Regions from separate parts of the Homo sapiens genome. Here all the other regions are linked to region 5. Evidence: promoter capture Hi-C in human tissues and cell types (Jung and others, 2019). All regions are on one chromosome and are shown on one strand. Each heading gives the region's core, a stretch centred on a gene start or on the middle of the fragment in contact. The rest is flanking DNA. Distances are from core to core; before and after follow the strand shown. Region 1 overlaps ZNF473 (zinc finger protein 473). Region 2 overlaps VRK3 (VRK serine/threonine kinase 3). Region 3 overlaps TEAD2 (TEA domain transcription factor 2). Region 4 holds the start of SLC6A16 (solute carrier family 6 member 16). Region 5 holds the start of ADM5 (adrenomedullin 5 (putative)).

The links. Contacts are between HindIII fragments. The study calls those that stand out against the background at their distance.
Region 1: a fragment that was not itself captured here is called in contact with the fragment with the promoter of ADM5 in region 5 in 1 of the 25 tissues and cell types used here (hippocampus).
Region 2: a fragment that was not itself captured here is called in contact with the fragment with the promoter of ADM5 in region 5 in 1 of the 25 tissues and cell types used here (pancreas).
Region 3: a contact is called between a fragment that was not itself captured here and the fragment with the promoter of ADM5 in region 5, in 1 of the 25 tissues and cell types used here (stomach).
Region 4: a contact is called between the fragment with the promoter of SLC6A16 here and the fragment with the promoter of ADM5 in region 5, in 1 of the 25 tissues and cell types used here (stomach).

What each region holds. Positions count from the first base shown.
Region 1 is chr19:50,027,767-50,031,810 of GRCh38, reverse strand. It overlaps ZNF473 (zinc finger protein 473), which reads right to left. Exons shown (of 5, transcript NM_015428.4): 2 at 720-919. The coding sequence starts at 728. Among named protein-coding and RNA genes, the nearest start is that of ZNF473, 3.8 kb to the right of the region's middle. The HindIII fragment of the contact is 4,342 bases long and covers 1-3,900 here.
Region 2 is chr19:49,990,771-49,994,301 of GRCh38, reverse strand. VRK3 (VRK serine/threonine kinase 3) reads left to right here. Exons shown (of 15, transcript NM_016440.4): 10 at 1,350-1,442. Among named protein-coding and RNA genes, the nearest start is that of SIGLEC16, 23 kb to the right of the region's middle. RefSeq lists an enhancer at 1-38. The HindIII fragment of the contact is 7,768 bases long and covers 1-3,531 here.
Region 3 is chr19:49,344,842-49,348,888 of GRCh38, reverse strand. It overlaps TEAD2 (TEA domain transcription factor 2), which reads left to right. Exons shown (of 13, transcript NM_001256660.2): 9 at 44-186; 10 at 1,526-1,699. Among named protein-coding and RNA genes, the nearest start is that of CD37, 11 kb to the right of the region's middle. The HindIII fragment of the contact is 5,882 bases long and covers 1-4,047 here.
Region 4 is chr19:49,323,442-49,327,172 of GRCh38, reverse strand. SLC6A16 (solute carrier family 6 member 16) reads left to right here and starts at 1,982. Exons shown (of 12, transcript NM_014037.3): 1 at 1,982-2,125. RefSeq lists an enhancer at 669-818. The HindIII fragment of the contact is 19,669 bases long and covers 1-3,327 here.
Region 5 is chr19:49,687,161-49,690,971 of GRCh38, reverse strand. ADM5 (adrenomedullin 5 (putative)) reads right to left here and starts at 1,378. Exons shown (of 2, transcript NM_001101340.2): 1 at 1,061-1,378; 2 at 397-866. The coding sequence starts at 1,134. The coding sequence ends at 479. It overlaps PRMT1 (protein arginine methyltransferase 1), which reads right to left. Exons shown (of 11, transcript NM_001536.6): 11 at 2,525-2,810. The coding sequence ends at 2,727. It also overlaps a transcript of CPT1C not described here. RefSeq lists a silencer at 919-988 and enhancers at 2,297-3,037, 3,038-3,779. The HindIII fragment of the contact is 11,781 bases long and covers 1-2,688 here.

The sequences.
Region 1 (4,044 bases), core at 480-2,979, 340 kb before region 5:
TTGATTCATTCATTCATTCAACTAACACCTCATGAGGCTTCCTGTGTTCCTGGCCTGTGCTGGGCCCTGGGGACCCAGAGATGAATCCCCATCAGTTCCTGTCCCCAAGGAGCATCTAGTCTGGTGGGGCTGACAGATATGGGCAGGAACATCCATATCTAGGTGGATCTGTGCTACAGTGGAGGCAGCAGGGGGTACTATGGAAGGCTAGAGCAGGAAAGTGCTGACTGCCTAGGGAAGGGTGGGGGAACTGAGCCGGGTCTTAAAGGCTGTGTGAGACACTACCACATGGAAAAGGGGCAGGGAATTCCAGCAGAGGGCCCAACCTGAGCAAAGGAAGCTGCTGGAAAGTACAGAATCAACTTTTACTACTAGGCCAAAGGGAGTATTTGTTATCTAGAGAAATGACAGAAGATGGTGCAAAGAGGGTAGAAGCCAGAACACACAGGAAGGCTGAAAAACCTGGAATTTATTCTATAAGCAATAGGGGTTCCCAGAAGAGTACAAACAGGAAAGAACAGCATGCGAGCTTTCCTTTAAAAAAGATCGCCTGGGAGCCACCATGGGACAGGGAGGCCAAAACAAAGGAAGGCCAGCTTTCCTGCCATGGGGGTGACCAATCAACACAGAGCGACCTTCAACTCGCCTCGGCCACAAAGGAAGGCCAATTTTTCTGCCTTTGGGTGTGACCGATTAGGACAGAGCGACCTTCAACTCACCTCAGCCATGGCCAACTGGGGTTCAGTAGCCTCTTTTAAGCTCCTCCTCCTTCCCCTCCGTGTTCCCGGCTGGCAGGGCTGTGGGAAGCACAAGGGAGCTGTGAGAAAGCCTCCCTTCCACCCATGGCTGACTCGCTGTCCATGCTGACGAGCCCCCAAAATGTCCAGGAGGAGGAGGACAAGTCCCAATGTGAGTCTCCCTGCAGGGGACAACAACAACTATATTTACTGAAGCCACCTCAGCCCCACATTTGCACTGTGCTTCAGAACCTACAGAACAGCTTCGCCACCAACAATGGTGGGTTAGCACCTAACAGTCAGTCAGCACATGTTTAGGAGATTTGGTGATGAAAGTCTATGGCCACAGTGGGAGCTTCTGTCTTGCTCACTGCTGTGTCTTAGCACCAGCATGGTGCCTAGTACGCAGTAGGTGCTTTAACAGTAGGTGTAAAAGTACCTACAGTTGTTGACAGAACGAAGGTGTCTAAAGAACCAATGGAACAATGCTTCTGGGATTTCTGATTATCATCTCTGGAATTTGAGTTCAGGTAAATTGGCCTCCGAAACTGTTACTCTTTTTTGGAGACACGGTCTTGCTCTGTTGCCAGGCTGGAGTACTACAGTGGCACAATCATGGGCCACTGCAGCTGTAATTTCCTGGGCTTAAGCAATCCTCCAACCTCAGCCTCTCAAGCAGCTGGGACTACAAGCATGTGCCACCACATCCAGCTAATCTTTTTCACTTTTTGTAGGGACAGGATCTCACTTGTTGCCCAAGTTGTTCTCAAACTCCTGACCTCAAGTAAGCCGCCCTCGTGGGCCACCCAAAGTGCTGGGATTACAGTTGTGAGCCACCGCACCTGGCCACTATCTCTACAACAGAAATATTTCAACTTTTGTTTTAACCGTGACCCACAGTAACACCACCAATATGTAGAATAGGCCAGGCACAGTAGCTCACGCCTGTAATCTCAGTACTTTGGGAGGCCGAGGTGGGCAGATTACTTGAGGTCAGGAGTTCAAGACCAGCCTGGCCAATATGCTGAAACCCCGTCTGTACTAAGAATACAAAAATTAGCTGGGCTTGGTGGGACGTGCCTGTGATCCCAGCTACTCGGAAGGCTGAGGCAAAGAATCACTTGAACCCGGGAGGCAGAGGCTGCAGTGAACCGAGATGGTGCCACCGCACTCCAGCCTGGGCAACACAGTGAGACTCCATCTCAAAAAAGAAAAAAAAAAAGTATCATGACTACTCAAACACACAGTGTAACTAAACAAAAGCTTCATGAAGCAATACTTACCCTGCAATGTAAGATGCACTGGGATGTTTTCTATTCTAGTCTCTTTTATTCTACTTCATTAAAAAATCATAGTCACTGCCCACCTAGTTATTTTCATGACCCATAATACGCAAAACTGTACCACAGACATTTTTACCCATTTGTATCCACTGCGTGGACCAAGTAGCACATATCTGCGGAGTGCTGAAAGCATTTCATATCACAAAGCAGCACGGATCACTTAACAATGACACAGGTCCACAAATTCTTCAAACTCCAAGGCCAGATGTGCTTTGAAATTCAACTTTTATTTTCAAAAGGTGATATGGCATATACATGGCATATTTCATTAAAATCCCAGTGCAGGGCTGGCCGCAGTGGCTCATGCCTGTAATCCCAGCACTTTGGGAGGCCAAGGCAGGCGGATCACGAGGTCAGGAGATCCAGACCATCCTGGCTAACGCGGTGAAACCCCGTCTCTACTAAAAATACAATAACAAAATTAGCCAGGCATGGTGGTGGGCGCCTGTAGTCCCAGTTACTCAGGAGGCTGAGGCGAGAGAATGGTGTGAACCCGGGAGGTGGAGCTTGCAGTGAGCCGAGATGGCGCCATGCACTCCAGCCTGGGCGACAGAGCGAGACTCCGTCTCAAAAACAAAAACAAAAACAAAACAAAACAAAGTCCCAGCGCAGTGTGGATCAGGCTGCATTTCATAATTGAACACTTTACCCTAGAGAAAAGTATCATCGTTCATTCTAGGTAGAATAATTTAAAGTTATATTTAAAAAATACCCTGTAGTAGTTCAGGTAAGGCACGGACACTAAATTTATGAAAAAAAATTTGTTGTTCTGAGTTGTCCAGATTTTTGAGACTACAAATATGGGAATATGGTAGACCTACAATAAATGCTAATTCTACTGAACAATGAGTTTTTCTACATGTCAGAGGTTAAGCCTCAACCTACGAGTATAACTCAGTTGACAGATATTTGGCCCATAATGTTTGTTGGCAGACAGAATGTTTTGAAAGAAAATTCAAGCATGGCTCACTAGTCTCAAACTTGAAAATTGGGAAATTTCACCTAAAAATTATGTTTCCAACTTCTGAAACATCCTAGGATTTGGCAACATTGGGTCTACATCCCACGAAGTTAGTTCACTGGTGCCCATTTAAAGCTCCCCCACCAGTGCTAGGCAAGTGGGGGATGCTTATAATCCCAGCACTTTGGGAGGCTGAAAGGTGTTCGAGACCAGCCTGGGCAACGTAACAAGACCTTGTTTCTAAAAAAAAAAAATTAAAAATGAGCAAGTTGTGGTGGCACGTGCCTGTAGTCCCAACTACTTGGGAGACTGAGGTAGGAGGATCGCTTGGGAGGCTGAGGTAGGAGGATCACTTGAGCCCAGGAGTTCAAGGCTGCAGTGAGCTATGATTGTGTCACTGTACTCCAGCCTGAATGACAGAGAAAGATCCTGCCTCCAAAAAAAAATTAAATTTGTTTTTTTTTTTTTTTTTGAGACGGAGTCTCGTTCTGTCGCCCAGGCTGGAGTGCAGTGGCGCGATCTCAGCTCGCTGCAAGCTCTGCCTCCCGGGCTCATGCCATTCTCCTGCCTCAGCCTCCTGAGTAGCTGGGACTACAAGCGCCTGCCACCACGCCCGGAGAATTTTTTGTATTTTTAGTAGAGACGGAGTTTCACCGTGTTAGCCAGGATGGTCTCGATCTCCTGACCTCGTGATCCACCCACCTCGGCCTTCCAAAGTGCTGGGATTACAGGCATGAGCCACCACACCCGGCCAAAAAAATTAAATTTAAGTTTAAAAAGCGGCTGGGTGCAGTGGCTCATGCCTGCCATCCCAGCACTTTGGGAGGCCAAGGCAGGCGGATCACCTGAAGTTTGGAGTCCAAGACCAGCCTGATCAACATGGTGAAACCCCCGTATCTACCAAAAATACAGAAATTAGCCAGGCATGGTGGTGCACGCCTGTAATTCCAGCTGCTTGGGAGGCTGAGGCAGGAGAATCGCTTCAACCGGGGAGGTGGAGGTT
Region 2 (3,531 bases), core at 593-3,092, 300 kb before region 5:
GGTTTCTGTGTCTTAGAGCTCACAGTCTAGTGGGAGGGGCCAATAGTGAATCAAACAGTTGCACAAACTATGACAAGTGCTCTGAATAGAAGCGGCCCCTGCTGTGATTGAGAGTAAGAGGGCCCAGTTTGCATCGCTGGAGGGATGGACGTACCAAGGGAGCGACATGCTGAGTCCTAAGGTCTTTATGTTCAGTATCTGCAGTATGGCACTGCAGTGCGGAAGAGATGGAGTTGGTCTGGAGAGGTCAGCGGTGACCACATCACACGGGGCCTCGCACAGCAGGCTGAGGGGCTGGGATCTGTCTTGAGGGCACTGGAGAGCCACAAGAGTGCTGGGATTAGGGGAGGGCGGGGTCAGCTCTGGGTACAGAAAGGCCCTCAGGGGCCATATGGGGAGGGACTGGAATGGGGAGAAGAATCTGAGTGAGGGTCCATGTGGGAGAGGACAAGGCTGAGGAGGGTCCCGGGCCCCGGGGGTGGAGAGTCTATAGGAGGAGAACGAGCAGAATTTGGTGGACAGTAGAGCCCTGGGGTCAAAGAGGGTTGGGGATATGATCAGAATGTAGCTGACACTCAGGCAGCAGACACAATCAAAGAATTGGCCGGGCGCAGCAGCTCATGCCAGTAATCCCAGCACTTTGGGAGGACGAGGCAGGTGGATCACTTGAGCTCAGGAGTTCAAGACCAGCCTGGGCAACATGGCAAAATGCCCTCTCTAATAAAAATACAAAAAATTAGCCGGGTGTGGTGGCACCCACCTGTAGTCCCAGCTACTTGTGAGGCTGAGGTGGGAGGATCACCTGAGCTTGGGAAATCAAGGCTACAGTGAGCAGTGATTGTACCACTGCACTCCAGCCTGGGCAACAGGAGTAAGACCCTGTCTCAAAAATATATATATACACACAGCAAAAAAAGAGTCTGGAGCTCATAGGGACAGCTGGAGCTGGAGATCAAGATATAAATTGCTTAACAAGATTTATTTCTGCTCTCTAGGACAGGTGAGAAGAGCTCTTTGATATCCACAGGTGCTGAGTCATTTTTGCAGAGAGACATTAACCCCTTTTCCCTCTGCTGAGTTTGTCATCAGCTAAGAGAGAAATACAGGAGTAGATAGGAAGCCACGCTTTAGCTCAATTGATGAGCTTCCTGAGAGCCTGATTAGAGGCGTGCTCAATGTGCTGTCACAGCGGGCTCCTCATGCTACCCCGGATTTAGTCAGGTTTAACCCCCAGTCACAGTGTCGGACAACCCCAGGCCTTAATAGTGGGGCTCCCTCCTGGTCTGCACCATAGCCTCTCTGTGTTAGTCGTACTGCTCATGCAGACACTGACTTGCTTCTTCCCCCAGCTGGATGCCCTGGAGTTCCTCCATGAGAATGAGTATGTTCATGGAAATGTGACAGCTGAAAATATCTTTGTGGATCCAGAGGACCAGAGTCAGGTAAGAGCCAGCTCCTGCCCACTCTGGAAGATCTCTGGGCTCAGGTTCCCATCTGTCTCCAAATCTCTATTTATTTCATAGTGCTTATTACAGACAAAGGATTGCTGTCCATCATATATAAAGAGCTCCTTCAAATAAATAAGATAAGCAACTTAGTAGGAAAATGGACAAAGGATAAGAAAAGCAATTCTTAAAAAAAGAAATCCACAGGCTAGCTAAATAATATGAAAAGATATTCAACCTCCTTAGTAACTATAGAGATGTAACTTAAAACAAGATACTATTTTCACCCTTTGAACAAAATTAAGCATGATAATAATATTCATTGCTGATAAGGATATAAGGAAGTAGGAATTCTTCATATACTGTTGGAAGCATGAATTGGGAAACCCTTTTGGAAGGCAATAACAGTCACAGTTTTAAATGCACCTGTTTTTTGTCTTTGATTTTGTTTTGAGATGGAGTTTCACTCTTGTTGCCCAGGCTGGAGTGCAATGGCACGATCTCGGCTCATCACAACCTCCACCTCCTGGGTTCAAGCGATTCTCTGTCAGCCTCCTGAGTAGCTGGGATTACAGGCATGCGCCACTACGCCTAGCTAATTTTGTATTTTTAGTAGAGATGGGGTTTCTCCATGTTGGTCAGGCTGGCCTCGAACTCCTGACCTCAGGTGATCCGCCCGCCTTTGCCTCCCAAGGTGCTGGGATTACAGGCCTGAGCCACCGTGCCCGGCCAAAATGCACCTGTTTTTTGATCCACAAGTTCCTGTCTTAGGAAGGTGTCCTACCTATATATTCATAGGATTGTTCAAAGATAAGTGTACAAGATGTTCCTGGCAACACTGATTGTAATAGTGAAATGGGAAACACCTTAAGCGGGATACTGATTAAATAGTATTTTAAAGTAACTTCTAATTGCTCTTACAATTACAAATGACAGAAACCCAACTTTACATGCCTTAAGCCAAAAACCAAAAGGGACTGTGTGCAATGTATTAGTCCACAGAATGGAGCAATCCAGGACTGCACTGTCTCGGGCACGGCAGGATCCAGGAGCTCAAACCCTGTCATTGGGAAGCCGGCTCTCCCATCTCTGGACTCCTCATGCTTCTGCACTGCTCGTTGTCAGGCAGACTTATTCCTCATGGTGACAAAATTGCCACCAGCAAATTAGGCTTAAATCCCCAAAGCTTAGCAGCCCTGGCAGAAACAGACCTGAACTGCGTGGACTGAGAACTGGGGAAAAGCAATCCCAGATGAAAATCCTGGAACTAAGCATTAGGAATCTTCAGAGAAACAGAACTGGCAGGGTGTGTGTGTGTGTGCGTGTGTGTGTGTGTGTAGAGATTTATTATAAGGAATTGGCTTATTGATAATGGAAGCTAAGCAGTCCTGAGATTCTTCAGTTTGCAATCTGGAGACCTAGGAGAGCCAATGATGTAAGTTCCAATCCAAAGGCCAGCAGGCCTGAGACCCAAGAAGAGGGGTTGTTTCAGTTCAAGTCCAAAGGCAGGAAAAGACCAATGTTCTAGCTCAAGCAGTCAGGGAGGAGGAGCTTCTGGTTACTTAGCTTTTTATTCTATTCACATCTTGAGTTGATTGAATGAGACCCACCCACATTAAGGAGAATAATCTGCCTTGCTCAGTCTACAAACCCCAATGTTCATCTCATCCAGAACACCCTCATAGACACTCCCAGAATAGGGTTTGGCCAAATGTCTGGGCACCCCATGGCCCAGTCAAGTTGCCACATAAAAATGACCATCATGGCCAGGCCCAGTGGCTCACACCTGTAATTCCAGCAGTTTAGGAGGCCAAAGTGGAAGGATCGGATCGCTTGAGCCCAGGAGTTCGAGACCAGCCTGGGAAACATAGGGAACCTCATCTGTACAAAATAAAAAATAATAACCTATCCAGGTGTAGTGGCATACACATGTGGTTCCAGCTACTCAGGAGGCTGAGGTAGAAGGATCACCTGAGCCCAGGAGATGGAGACTGCAGTGAGCCATGATCATACCACTGCACTCCAACCTGCGTGACCCAGTGAGACCCTGTCTCAAAACTTAAAAAAAAAAAATTATTTTTTTAAT
Region 3 (4,047 bases), core at 1,184-3,683, 340 kb after region 5:
TAAATGTTAGCAATTTGTATTGTTCTTTCTTCTCTCTCTCTAGGGTACGAGCCCCCCCAAGCCCTCTCACCCCTGCCCCCACCTACCCCATCGCCCCCAGCCTGGCAGGCTCGGGGCCTGGGCACCGCCCGGTTGCAGCTGGTAGAGTTCTCAGCCTTCGTGGAACCGCCAGATGCAGTTGATTCTGTGAGTGAAATTTTGGTACAGTCGCTGAGGGATTTTGAAATATAGAGGGTGACAGGAAGGGAATGTATAAAGTCATGGTTTTAAAACTTTAGCATGTATCAGAATCATCTGAAGGGCTTCTTAAAACAGAGATTGCTTTCTGATTTGCTAGATGTGATGTGGGGCTTGAGAATTTGCATTTCTAATAAGCTACCAGGTGCGTTGATGCAGCTGGTCTGGGGACCGTACTTTGAGAACTACTAGCATAAAGGAACTGGAAGGTCATAGGGTGACAAGTTGGGAAGGTCAGAAAAGCTCCCCAGGACATCATTCATTCATTTATCAAACGTGTTTGAGTTTCTACTGTTCACTAGGCTTTGTGATGCATACTAGGAACTTGGAAAAGATTTTATTTCTGTGCTTGAGCTTCTCCTGGGCTAGGATGGAGTGGGCCGACTGTTAGAAGAAACAGCTCCTAACTCTTAGGGACTGAATGCCAGATAAGTTGCATGTAACATTTCAATGTAGGTTCAGCAGGAGCCTTGGACTCAAGTGATTTGGGGATCCAGGCTCCTTCCATTTTGTGGCTCTGCCATTTTCTAAGGCTTCAGAATCTGCTGATGGAGTCTCTGCATCTGGCCAGCAGATGGAGGAAGGGAGAGAGTCAAGATTGTGCAGGAGGTTTTAGGAATCTGACTTGGATGTGTCGACTCTCAGGCCTGGTCACATCCCATTGGCCAGAACTTAGTCATGTGGTCACACCTAACTGCAAAGCGGCCTGGGAAATGTAGTTTCACACTGTGTAAAGGAACCAGGATTTGTGAACACGTAGCAGTCTCTGCCACACCATATAAACATCAATCAAAACATCAACCACAAGACCTCTGTGGATTCCCATTCATTCACTCTTCCATCCATTGACCATTTATGAGCACCTGTTCTATATAGGACCAGGCCTAGGGGGTGTGAGCTTTGCCCTGGGGCTGCTGGGGAGCTATGGGAGGGCCATGACCAGGGGAGGGTCAGGGGCAGGTCTGGAGCCACATGAGGGATGAACTGGAGAGGCGAGGTTGGAGGCTGGGGTGAGGGTGGGAGGCCTGAGGTGAGGCTGAGGCAGTGAGGATGGAGTTGGGGGAGTTGTGGCAGGGAGTTGGGGACTGTAGGACTGCAGGGCTGCAGGGGACTGGGTGCAGAAGCAGGAGTGGGGACGATGGGTGGCAGTCAGGCCCAGTGCTGGGTGGACTGTGTGGAACAGCTGGCCAGAGCTGTGGGGATGGTGACGGCATTTGGTGGGCTCAGGCAGCACAGGCTGGAGATCCAGCTCACCTCCGACTTCTCACCCACGGCCAACCCTCCTCAGTACCAGAGGCACCTGTTCGTGCACATCAGCCAGCACTGCCCCAGCCCCGGAGCGCCGCCGCTCGAGAGTGTGGACGTCCGGCAGATCTACGACAAATTCCCTGAGAAAAAGGGTGGCCTCCGAGAGCTATATGATCGTGGCCCCCCCCATGCCTTCTTCCTGGTCAAGTTCTGGGTGAGTTCTCACAGCAAAATCAAAAGTGCTCACAAATCCTGTGGTGTCCCAGCAAAGGCCTCTGGCCCTGAGAGAATCTGTCGCGGGCCCTACCAGGTCAGCCTGGGACTTACCAGTCAGTCCTCATGGCTTGGAGTGTCAGCCCCCTTTGCAACAAGGAACACCGAGGAGGCCAGCCCCCAGGGTGGGTTGGAGGTGTCTGGGCCTCCCTGGATCCCACTAGACATTGCCACATGTAACTAATACGGTGAGTTACCTGGCCATGTAGCTAATAGGGTCCTGGGCATGGGCTTGCCATGTTCCAGGCTTCCCTGTGCCCCACCTGACTGCACCAAGCCGTGCTGCTAAGGAAAGACCCCTCCCCGTAGCCAGTGGACTTGTGGAGACTGGTTTCTAAAGAGGGGACTGATGCTTTGCATCAGTTTCACCAGACCTTGTTGCTAGAGAATGTCTGGCTTTGAGGAAGTGATGAAAAGAGCCATGGAGTGGCTTTGCCAAGTCCTGTATTCATTTATTTGTTTATTTATTTATTTTTGAGACATAGTCTCACTGTCACCCAGGCTGGAGTGCAGTGGCTGTATCTTGGCTCACGGCAACCTCCGCCTCCTGGATTCAAGCGATTCTCCTGCCTCAGCCTCCCCAGTAGATTGGACTACAGGCACCCGCCACCACATCTGGCTAATTTTTGTATATTTAGTACAGACGGGGTTTCACCATGTTGGCCAGGCTGGTCTTGAACTCCTGGCCTCAAATGATCTGCCCACCTTGGCCTCCCAAAGTGCTGGGATTACAGGTGTGAGCCACCGCACCCGTCCAAGTCCTGTATTTATGTAGCAATCATTTATTGAGCACTTCCTATATAGACGCCTGGTGTCAGCTGCTATTTATATGATTGGGACTAAGAGGGCCCATCTTGCGTGTTTCTTAGGGCTACTTGGTTTGGTGTCCAGTATGATGACTAACACTACAGGGGTTCAATAAATGTGTTTTATTTTCTTTTATTGTTTTTTTTTTTTTTTTTTTTGAGATGGAATTTTGCTCTTGTTGCCCAGGCTGGAGTGCAATGGTGCGATCTCGGCTCACTGCAACCTCTGCCTCCTGGGTTCAAGCGATTCTCCAGCCTCAGCCTCCCAAGTAGCTGGGATTACAGGCATGCACGACCATGCCCAGCTAATTTTTGTATTTTTAGTAGAGACGGAGTTTCGTCATGTTGGCCAGGCTGATCTTGAACTCCTGACCTCATGTGATCCGCTCACCTTGGCCTCTCCAAGTGCTGGGATTACAGGCATGAGCCACTGCACCTGGCCTAATTTTTGTATTTTTAGTAGAGACAGGGTTTTACCATGTTGGCCAGTCTGGTCTCGAACTCCTGACCTCAAGTGATCCACCCACCTTGGCCTCCCAAAGTGCTGGGATTACAAGTGTGAGCCACAGTGCCTGGCCTGGGCTCAATAAATGTTGCCTGGATGTTTAGGGGGTGCTAGTTCTTATAGTAACAAAGGTGGTGGAGGGATCTAGTCTCTGAGAAGAAAGCCTGGCTAGGTGTGGTGGTTCACTCCTATCTTCCCAGCACTTTGGGAAGCTGAGGCGAGAGTTTCGCTTGTGTTCAAGAGTTTGACACCAGCCTGGGCAACACAGTGAGACCTCAACTCTACAAAAAATGAAAAAAATTAGCTGGGTGTGGTGGTGCGCACCTGTGGTCCTAGCTTCTGTGGAGGCTGAGGCAGGAGGATCACTTAAGCCTGGGAGGTGGAGGCTGCAGTGAGCCAAGATTGTGCCACTGCCCTCCAGCCTGGGTGACAGAATGAGACCCTGCCGAAAGAAAGAAAGGAAGAAAGGAAGAAGGAAAGAAAGGAAAGAAAAGAAAGAAGGAAAGAAAGAAGGAAGGAAGGAAGGAAAGGAAGGAAAGGCCTGCTGAGGGCCTGAACTTTACTGTTCTTGCTGGGAGTGTTGTTGTTCTGGAGCTTGCTGTTCACGGTTCTGGAGCTTTCTGCCATGTGAAGCAGAAGCCTGAAACTGCTCTGGGGATGTGCAGCTGAGGGCTTAGACATTGTTGGGGCTTAAGACAGGCCTTATCAGGTCCCAGGACTGGAGAGCCACCCCCTTAGGAAGCCCAGCTGCTGAAGGGGTTCAGAGGAGCAGCTGGTAAGGTCTTTGGTTTTGCCACGGTGAGAGATGGAGTCGGGCCCCTGAGAAGACGGACCTGGCACAGTGTTAGCAACTAAAGTTAGGAAGAGGAAGAGGTGCGCCTCGCAAGGAGGTGACTCAGACCAAAGGTGTGATGAGCTCTTAGGCTTCCTTAGGCCCCACTTGGCCTAGTGACACTTGGCCAGCTGTCTACACACACT
Region 4 (3,731 bases), core at 733-3,232, 360 kb after region 5:
GAACCCGGGAGGCAGAGGTTGCAGTGAGCCGAGATTATGCCACTGCACTTCAGCCTGGGTGACAAAGTGAGATTGTCTCAAAAAAAAAAAAAATTCGATAGAAATAAATAGGTCTGTGGCCCTTTTCTGTCGCAGCACTTTTTTTTTTTTCCTTGAGACAGGGTCTTACCCCATCACCCAGGCTGGAGTGTAGTAGTGTGATCTTGGCTTACTGCAACTTCTGCCTCATGGTTTTAAGTGATTCTTGTGCCTCAGCCACCCGAGTAGCTGGGATTACAGGCGTGCACCACCACACCTGGCTCGTTTTTGTATTTTTAGTAGAGATGGGGTTTCACCATGTTGGCCAGGCTGGTCTTGAACTCCTGGCCTCATGTGATCCGCCCACCTTGGCCTCCCAAAGTGCTGGGATTACAGGCGTGAGCCACCATGCCCGGCCTGTCATAGCACTTAATACAATTTATAATCATGTAATTATTTGAGATTCATCATATATCTGTTTTCTTGTTGTGTGAAGCAAAACGAGGGCAGGAATGGGGTCTGTTTTGTTCTCTACACTATTCCCAGTTCCTAGCATTTAGTAGACTCTCGATAAATACGTGTTGAAAGATTGAATGATTCCCAAAGATTGTGATGAATTCTTACAGCACCCCCAAAATTTCCTCTTCATCTCTTTGTTCAATCATAACAATTTAAGCCTTTCATTCTCAAAGTGTGGCTCAGGGACTCCTGGGGGCTCTTGAAACACTTTTGGGGGTCCATGAGGTGAACATTATTTTCATAATACTACTAAGATATTATTTGCCTTTCACTTTCATTTCCTCTTTGAATATAGTGATGTTTGCCAGAAGCTACAAGACATGAGCTATTTTGACACACTCAGTGCAGAAGCAGATATGAGAATCCAGCTGTCTTCTATGAAGCCAGACATTAGAGAGATTTGCAAAAATGTAAAATGATGCCATTCTTCTCCCCAAATTTTTTCTTTTTTTTCCTTTTTTTTTTTGAGACGGAGTCTTGCTCTGTTGTCTAGGCTGGAGTGCAGTGGCAAAATCTCGGCTCATTGCAACCTCTGCCTCCTGGGTTCCAACGATTCTCCTGCCTCAGGCTCCCGAGTAGCTGGGATTACAGGTGTGTGCCACCACGCCCGGCTAATTTTTTTTTTTTTTGACTTTTAGTAGAGACGGGGTTTCATCATGTTGGCCAAGCTAGTCTCGAACTCCTGACCTCGTGATCCACCCGCCTTGGCCTCCCAAAGTGCTGGGATTACAGGCGTCAGCCACCGCGCCCAGCGCCAAAATTTCTTTTGGAGTAGAAATTATAGTTATTTTAAATAAAAATGTTATTTTGACACATAATGAATTTTTAAACAATGACTATTTTAGAAATTTATTTTAATATTGATAGATACAACTCACATAAACATACAACCCATATAAATGTAACTCATAAATTATTGGAGTCCTTAATAATTCTTAAGAGACCGGAAAGTATGAGAACGGATGACCTAAGTAAATCTTTGAGTTTTTAATTCTTGTCTGCAGCCCTAGTAGGCTTCTGAGCTCTCTTAAGGCAACGTCCCTGTCTGCCTTGTTGGACGCATATTTAAGGTTTGGTTTCTAGTAGGCGATCTTTAAGTAAATGCGAAAGGTTTGAAGGCTAGAAGGAATGAATGAGACGATTCTCCCACTTCCTACCCTCTTCTTCCTTACATGAAGTGGAAGCAAAGTGCATGTGCCAGAGAAAGGCCTTGTCTTAGAGCCCCGCCTGAAGCGTGGCATCGTGGGTGTCGGGGTGGGGTGCGGTGGGGAAGGGAGTGGCGCGTGAGCAGTCAGAGGATGTGCACACGTGCGTGCGTGTGGGGAGAGAGCAGGGAGTTGGGGAGGGCGAAGTGGTTACAGTGTTTGCTACAGCTGTAGGGAAAGAGTGAGGGGGCGCGGCGGCGCATGCGCAGAGAATCGGCGGGAAAGGCCGCGCGCCAGGCAGATCGAGGGGTGTCGCCCAAACCGATCTGTCGACGCCTGAAGGGGCCTGAGGAGATTGCTAGGCTTCTCAGCTGGGGCTTCTTCACCCTCATTTTTGTCCGACTGGCTGGACTGAAGAACCTGGCAGAAGCCTTGGGGCTAGGGTGAGGGTCACGGCCCAGGGAGCCCTAAAATGTTCCCACATCTGGGGTGTGTGGGGCTGGGCGCCATTTTCGAGGCCCGGGCCCACTGGGCTCCACTGACGGGTGACAGGTGACTGGCTGGGAGCCTCCTGGTTGCCCTGGGCTCTGTGGAGCTGAGGGATCAAAGGGGTCCCTCCTTTACCCCCCACGTAGGACAGAGGAAACTGTCTTCGGCTCTCCTCACTCATCCAGTCCGAGTTTGAGCCAATTCCTTGACAGGATTCGGCCATCAGTCCCTGCCTTTGGGGAAAGCCATCAGTGTCAAGTGCCCGAGTGGCAGAAACCCGGGTCTAGCCCCATCACTGGTCTGTTAGGGCAGTTATTTTCTGCTTTTTGCAGAAATGGGACACCAGCTCCTTATTTTCCTTTTCTGGAGGTTATAGTTCCAGGGAAGGAGGTAATGTGAGGGGAATGGGCATTTCTGGGGGATCCTGAGCACTCCCCACAGGGCATGAGCCTAGGAGTTGCTTGGGATGACGGTGTAGGGGCACCATGGAGGGTTGCACCCATATGGGAAGAGGAGTCCGCCTGGGGCTCAAGGGGCTTTATGGATGTTGGAAGTGGCCAGCTGGCCAAAACTCAGTTCTCTCCCTTCCGTAAAGCTTGCTTTTAAGGACAACTGTTCTAGAATGTGTTTAAGAAACATGAATCTATTATTTTTTATTTATTTATTTATTTGAGATGGAGTCCCACTCTGTCACCCAGGCTGGAGTGCAGTGGCACGATCTCAGCTCACTGCAACCTCTGCTTCCCAGGTTCAAGCGATTCTCCTGCCTCAGCCTCCCAAGTAGCTGGGACTATAGGCGTGCGCCACCACCCCCAGCTAATTTTTTGTATTTTTAGTAGAAACGGGGTTTCACTGTGTTGGCCTGGCTGGTCTCGAGCTCCTGACCTCAGCCGATCCACCCGCCTCAGCTTCCTAAAGTGCTGAGATTACAGGTGTGAACCCCCGTGCCCAGCCTATTATTATTATTTTTAAGAGACAGGGTCTCTCTCTGTCTCCCAGGCTGGAGTCCAGTGGCATGATCACCTCTCACTACAGCCTCGAACTTCTGGGCTCAAGCAATCCTTCCACCTCAGCCTTTCAAAGAGCTGGGATTACAGGCTGAGCCACTGGAGGCTTGGTTTTCACTTATTTTGGGTGTATACCCAGAAGTGGAATTGCTGGATCATATGGTAATTCTATTTTTAAGTTTTTGAGGAACCACCATAGTGTTTTCCATGGTGGTTGCACCATTTTACATTCTGACCAGCAAGGCACAAGGATTCCAATTTCTCCACATCCTCACCAACACTTCTTATTTTCTGCCTTTTTATATTAGCCATCCTAATGGATGCGAGGTATTATCTCATTGTAGTTTTCATTTGCATTTCCTTAATGATTAGTGACGTTGAACATCTTTTCATGTACTTCTTGGAGATTGGTATATCTTCCTTGGAGAAATGTCTATTTAAGTCTTTTGCCCATTTTTGAATTGTGTTGTTTGTTTCTTTGTTGTTGAGTTTTACGAGTTCTCTATATATTCTGAATATTAATCTCTTATTATACATATGATTTTCAGATATT
Region 5 (3,811 bases), core at 129-2,628:
GCTCGCATTCTACGCAGCTGTTCGGAACCCGGGTTCCTGGGCTCCTCACTCAGCTCATTGTCTCTTAGTCTCCTGTCTCTTCGAGGAACAAGGCTCAGCTGGGAGGTCGCAGCCCACCCCAGGTGCATTATAACGTCAGGCGCGTAGGGTGCCGGAGCAAATCTCAGCCCTTTCACGCCAGGGAGGGAGGAGGGATGTTTGGGGGTCAGGACGGCCCGCCAAAACCACCCACGGAAGGTGCATGGATTGAGTTGGCAAGAAAGGCGCCACAGCGGGTTGGATTCAAGGTAGACAGTGGGACTTCCGTGAGGGAGAAGCAGCATGGCTAATAGAGAAAGGTATATTAGAGACCCAGCCTCGACTGAGAGGTCGAAATAGGTACAGAGAAGCAGAGACTGAAACACGGAACTCTTGTTTATTCGGCTCTGGGCGTCAGTGTTCTTCGCCCAGCCTGGTCCCGTGTGCTTCTAGGTCCAACCTAGTCGCAGCCCGGGGAGGGACTGGGGAAGACGGTTTCAGGGGCTGGAGTTAGGGGAGAAGAAATGTGGAGTAGAAGCTCCAACATACAGATAGGCAAACTGAAGCCGAGGAGGGGACGAGCCGTGCCCGAGGTCACCCAGCGAGCTGGGCACTGCGCTAGCCCCCTCGCTGCAGGCCGGAATCCTGGGAACCGAGCCGGGCTTCCGCCTCGCGCCACCGGCGGCGCCCATAGCTGTAGGGGTCCTGGGGCTCGTGGCTGGCCTTCCCCGAGGGCTCCTTGGTGGAGACAGCGAATCCAGTATATGATCTCCGCCAGGCGGTGGGTCCGGCATACGCCCAGGTAGCAGACGTGCCCGCGGTGCTGGGGGACCTGGTGCTGGCCTCGCCTGGAGAGGGAGCGTGGGAGAAAACCGGGTTCAAACCGAATTGAGAGATGGAGCGTGATGGAGGTGGGCACCCAAGCACTCCAAGACCAGCGGGGAGGCTTACAGATCACCTGCCCGTTCCGCGGCCGGGAGAGGGCGCTCGCCCTTTACGGTCTCCCTCCCGCCCTGTCCCTGCTGCCACCCGGGTTTCTCACCTGGCTGCAGTGTCCAGGTCCCCTTGGGCGGAGAAGGCGAGGAGCAACAGCAGGATGAGGATGTGGATAGTCATCGTGGGCAGGGCGGGTCAGGATCCGTGGCCCGTAGTTGCGGCCACCCCGCCCCGTTCCCGCACCGGGCTGATCGCCTCTGGGTGCAGCTCTGGAGCCAGGTACCAGGGCCAGTCCCCACTTCCCAGGCGGGGAACACTGAGGCCAAAAGTCTGTGGGAAGAGGCCGCACCACACCAGAGGGGCAGGATTCAAACCCGGGTCCCCGCTTCCCGCACCGCGGCTCCAGAGACCTCACTGGGTGTGTGGGGTCACACCAGCTGCTGTCTATCCCCCTAGGAGGTCTGTGGAGACTCGCCCCCTTCAAAGCGTGGGGAAATGGGGCGGGGCCAATGACACCCGCAGGTAGCTAAGCAGCGGGATTCCAAGAAAAGGGGTGGCGGCGGGGAAGCGCTGGCTCTGGTTGTAGATGCGACCTCACCCTCACCCTGTCGGGAAGCCGGTTAGTAGACAGTTGGGACCCTGGAACCTCGGGGGCCAGGCAATGCAGGGCAAGTGCACATGCGGCCCCCTGGAGGGCGTGGAGCGAGGGAGACCCCAAACACACTGAGGAGCGCCCCTCCGGAAGAGAAAAGGCCGAGGTGTCAGGCACTCGCCGGTGAGGGCTCCAGTTGCACTGAAGCAGGTGTAGCCAGGGCTGTTCAACGAGGAGGGTGTCCTGGGTCAACCAGGTCGAGTGCACAGTATTGTGGGGGACCCAGGACCCCGTGGCCAGGCCCTGAGGGTGGAAGGGTGGGTGCAGACGCCATGTCTGCAGCAGAGGCAGAGGGACCTCGTCTTCACCTCTGTAAGATGGGTAGGCCCTGCCACCTTACAGCTGCAACTCCCACTGACCTCCATGGAGGGCAAGTCCCCAGCCCTAAGCCCCAAGCCATTCTAGGGGAGGAAGCAGGGCCACTCCCCCATGAGAAATTCTATCCTTGCAAACATACACCCCCAACCCACTCAGTGTCCCCAGCTGCAGAGGGCTGGGCACAGTTGGGCCTTGAAGGGACCCGAACAGGAAAAAACAGCCAGAGAGGAACAATGTCGAGTGTTGGGGGGAGGTGGGGAGACTGTTCTGGGAAACTTGAGGGCTGGCTGTGCTGGAAAGCCACCCCCATCCCCTACTAGGCAGGACACGGGTACCGCAGAGGGGAGGGGCGCAGACCCAGGAGAGGGATGAAAAGAGTTGGACAAAGACCCTGAGAGACAGCTGTGGAGGACAGGGACCCCGAGAAGGAACCAAGGAAGGGGAGCAAGAGGCCTAGAGACGGGGGACGGGAGACGCAGATCCACAGAATGGCAGCCACCAGCAGGTGCCAAGGCCGGTCCCCCCACTGCTGAGGCTGGCACTGCAGTACCTGCGAAAGGAACCCCAAACCTCCTTTGCCCCCAGGAAACAAAGCCAGACCCCAGCTGAGGATTTATTGGCGTAAATGCAACCATATAAAAACATAAGTTATGAAAAACACAGTCACGATGTGCCCTCCCCATCCCCCCAGCCCAGGCCCCTAAAACCCCCTTCTGCGGGAGGGAGGGAGAGGAAGGGGGAGCCCCGAAACCGCCTAGGAACGCTCAGCCCCTGGGCTCGTGCAGGGCGGGAGAGCCGGGCCTCAGCGCATCCGGTAGTCGGTGGAGCAGGACAGCTCGCACAGCTGGCCCTTGAAGTCCAGGTCGATGGTGAAGTCCAGGTCCCGCTGCAGGGAGAGGTGGGGCATGAGGGCGGAACCCACCAGGAGGTGGTGGCGGGGGGCGGGTGCAGGCAGGCTATGCGACGATGAGCCGGGCTCCAGCTTCCTGCCCATCTCCACGCTGCAGACCCCAACTGCTGGTCCCACCCTAGCAGCTGCCCTGACCCTGCCAAGGGACAGCACCACATGGACACCCCCAAGCCCACTAGACTCACTCAGGAGTAGAGCCCAGCTGCTGTCCCTTGCCCTTGGATTTCTCCATCAGGATGATTCCCATCAGCAATGCAGTGATTGCTTCTTTCATAAAAAAGAAAACCTCTCCCAAGCCCACTTCCTCCTCAGGCAAACGTTCCAGTGAAACACAATGGTCCAGCCTGCTGTCTCCACTTCCTCTCCTCCCCCCATACCCTCCAGCACATGAAGATGAGACAAAGTCACCAACGCCCGAGGACTCCTCCTCCCTCTCCAGTATCCGTTTCCCAGCTAGTGCCGTGGTCCCGGGGGCTGCATGAGTCTTTGTAGGGGGTGGTCCTGTGGCTGCAGGACATTTACCAGCCCCCTGGCCCCTACCTACCAGATGCCAGGACCACCCCTTCTCCGGAGTGACAACCACAAATGTTTCCACAGACGGTGGCAAACGTCCTGGGGGGGGGCGGGGAGCGGAGGGGGCAGTAAAACTGCCCAGTTGACAACTGCTGCTGTCACAGGCTCGTGGGTGTCCCAGGGTCCACATTCCATGACTACCCTGAGTGCCACCCACCCTCGCACCCATCGGCCGGGACCCACTTTTCCAACCCAGACCACTCCCGGCGACTCCAGGCTCCAAGCCTTCCATCCTCCTGCCTGCTCAGACCCACCACACTGGATCTCTGCCCAGACCCTGTCTCCGAGAAGCCCCCCCAGCTCCCCCGGAAGCCCCCTGATCTCAGGTGATGGCAGCTCCTGCCAAGTGCTCAGGAGGAAAAAGAAAGGGGAGCAGAAAACAAAAAGCTGCCTTTCTCCTCTCA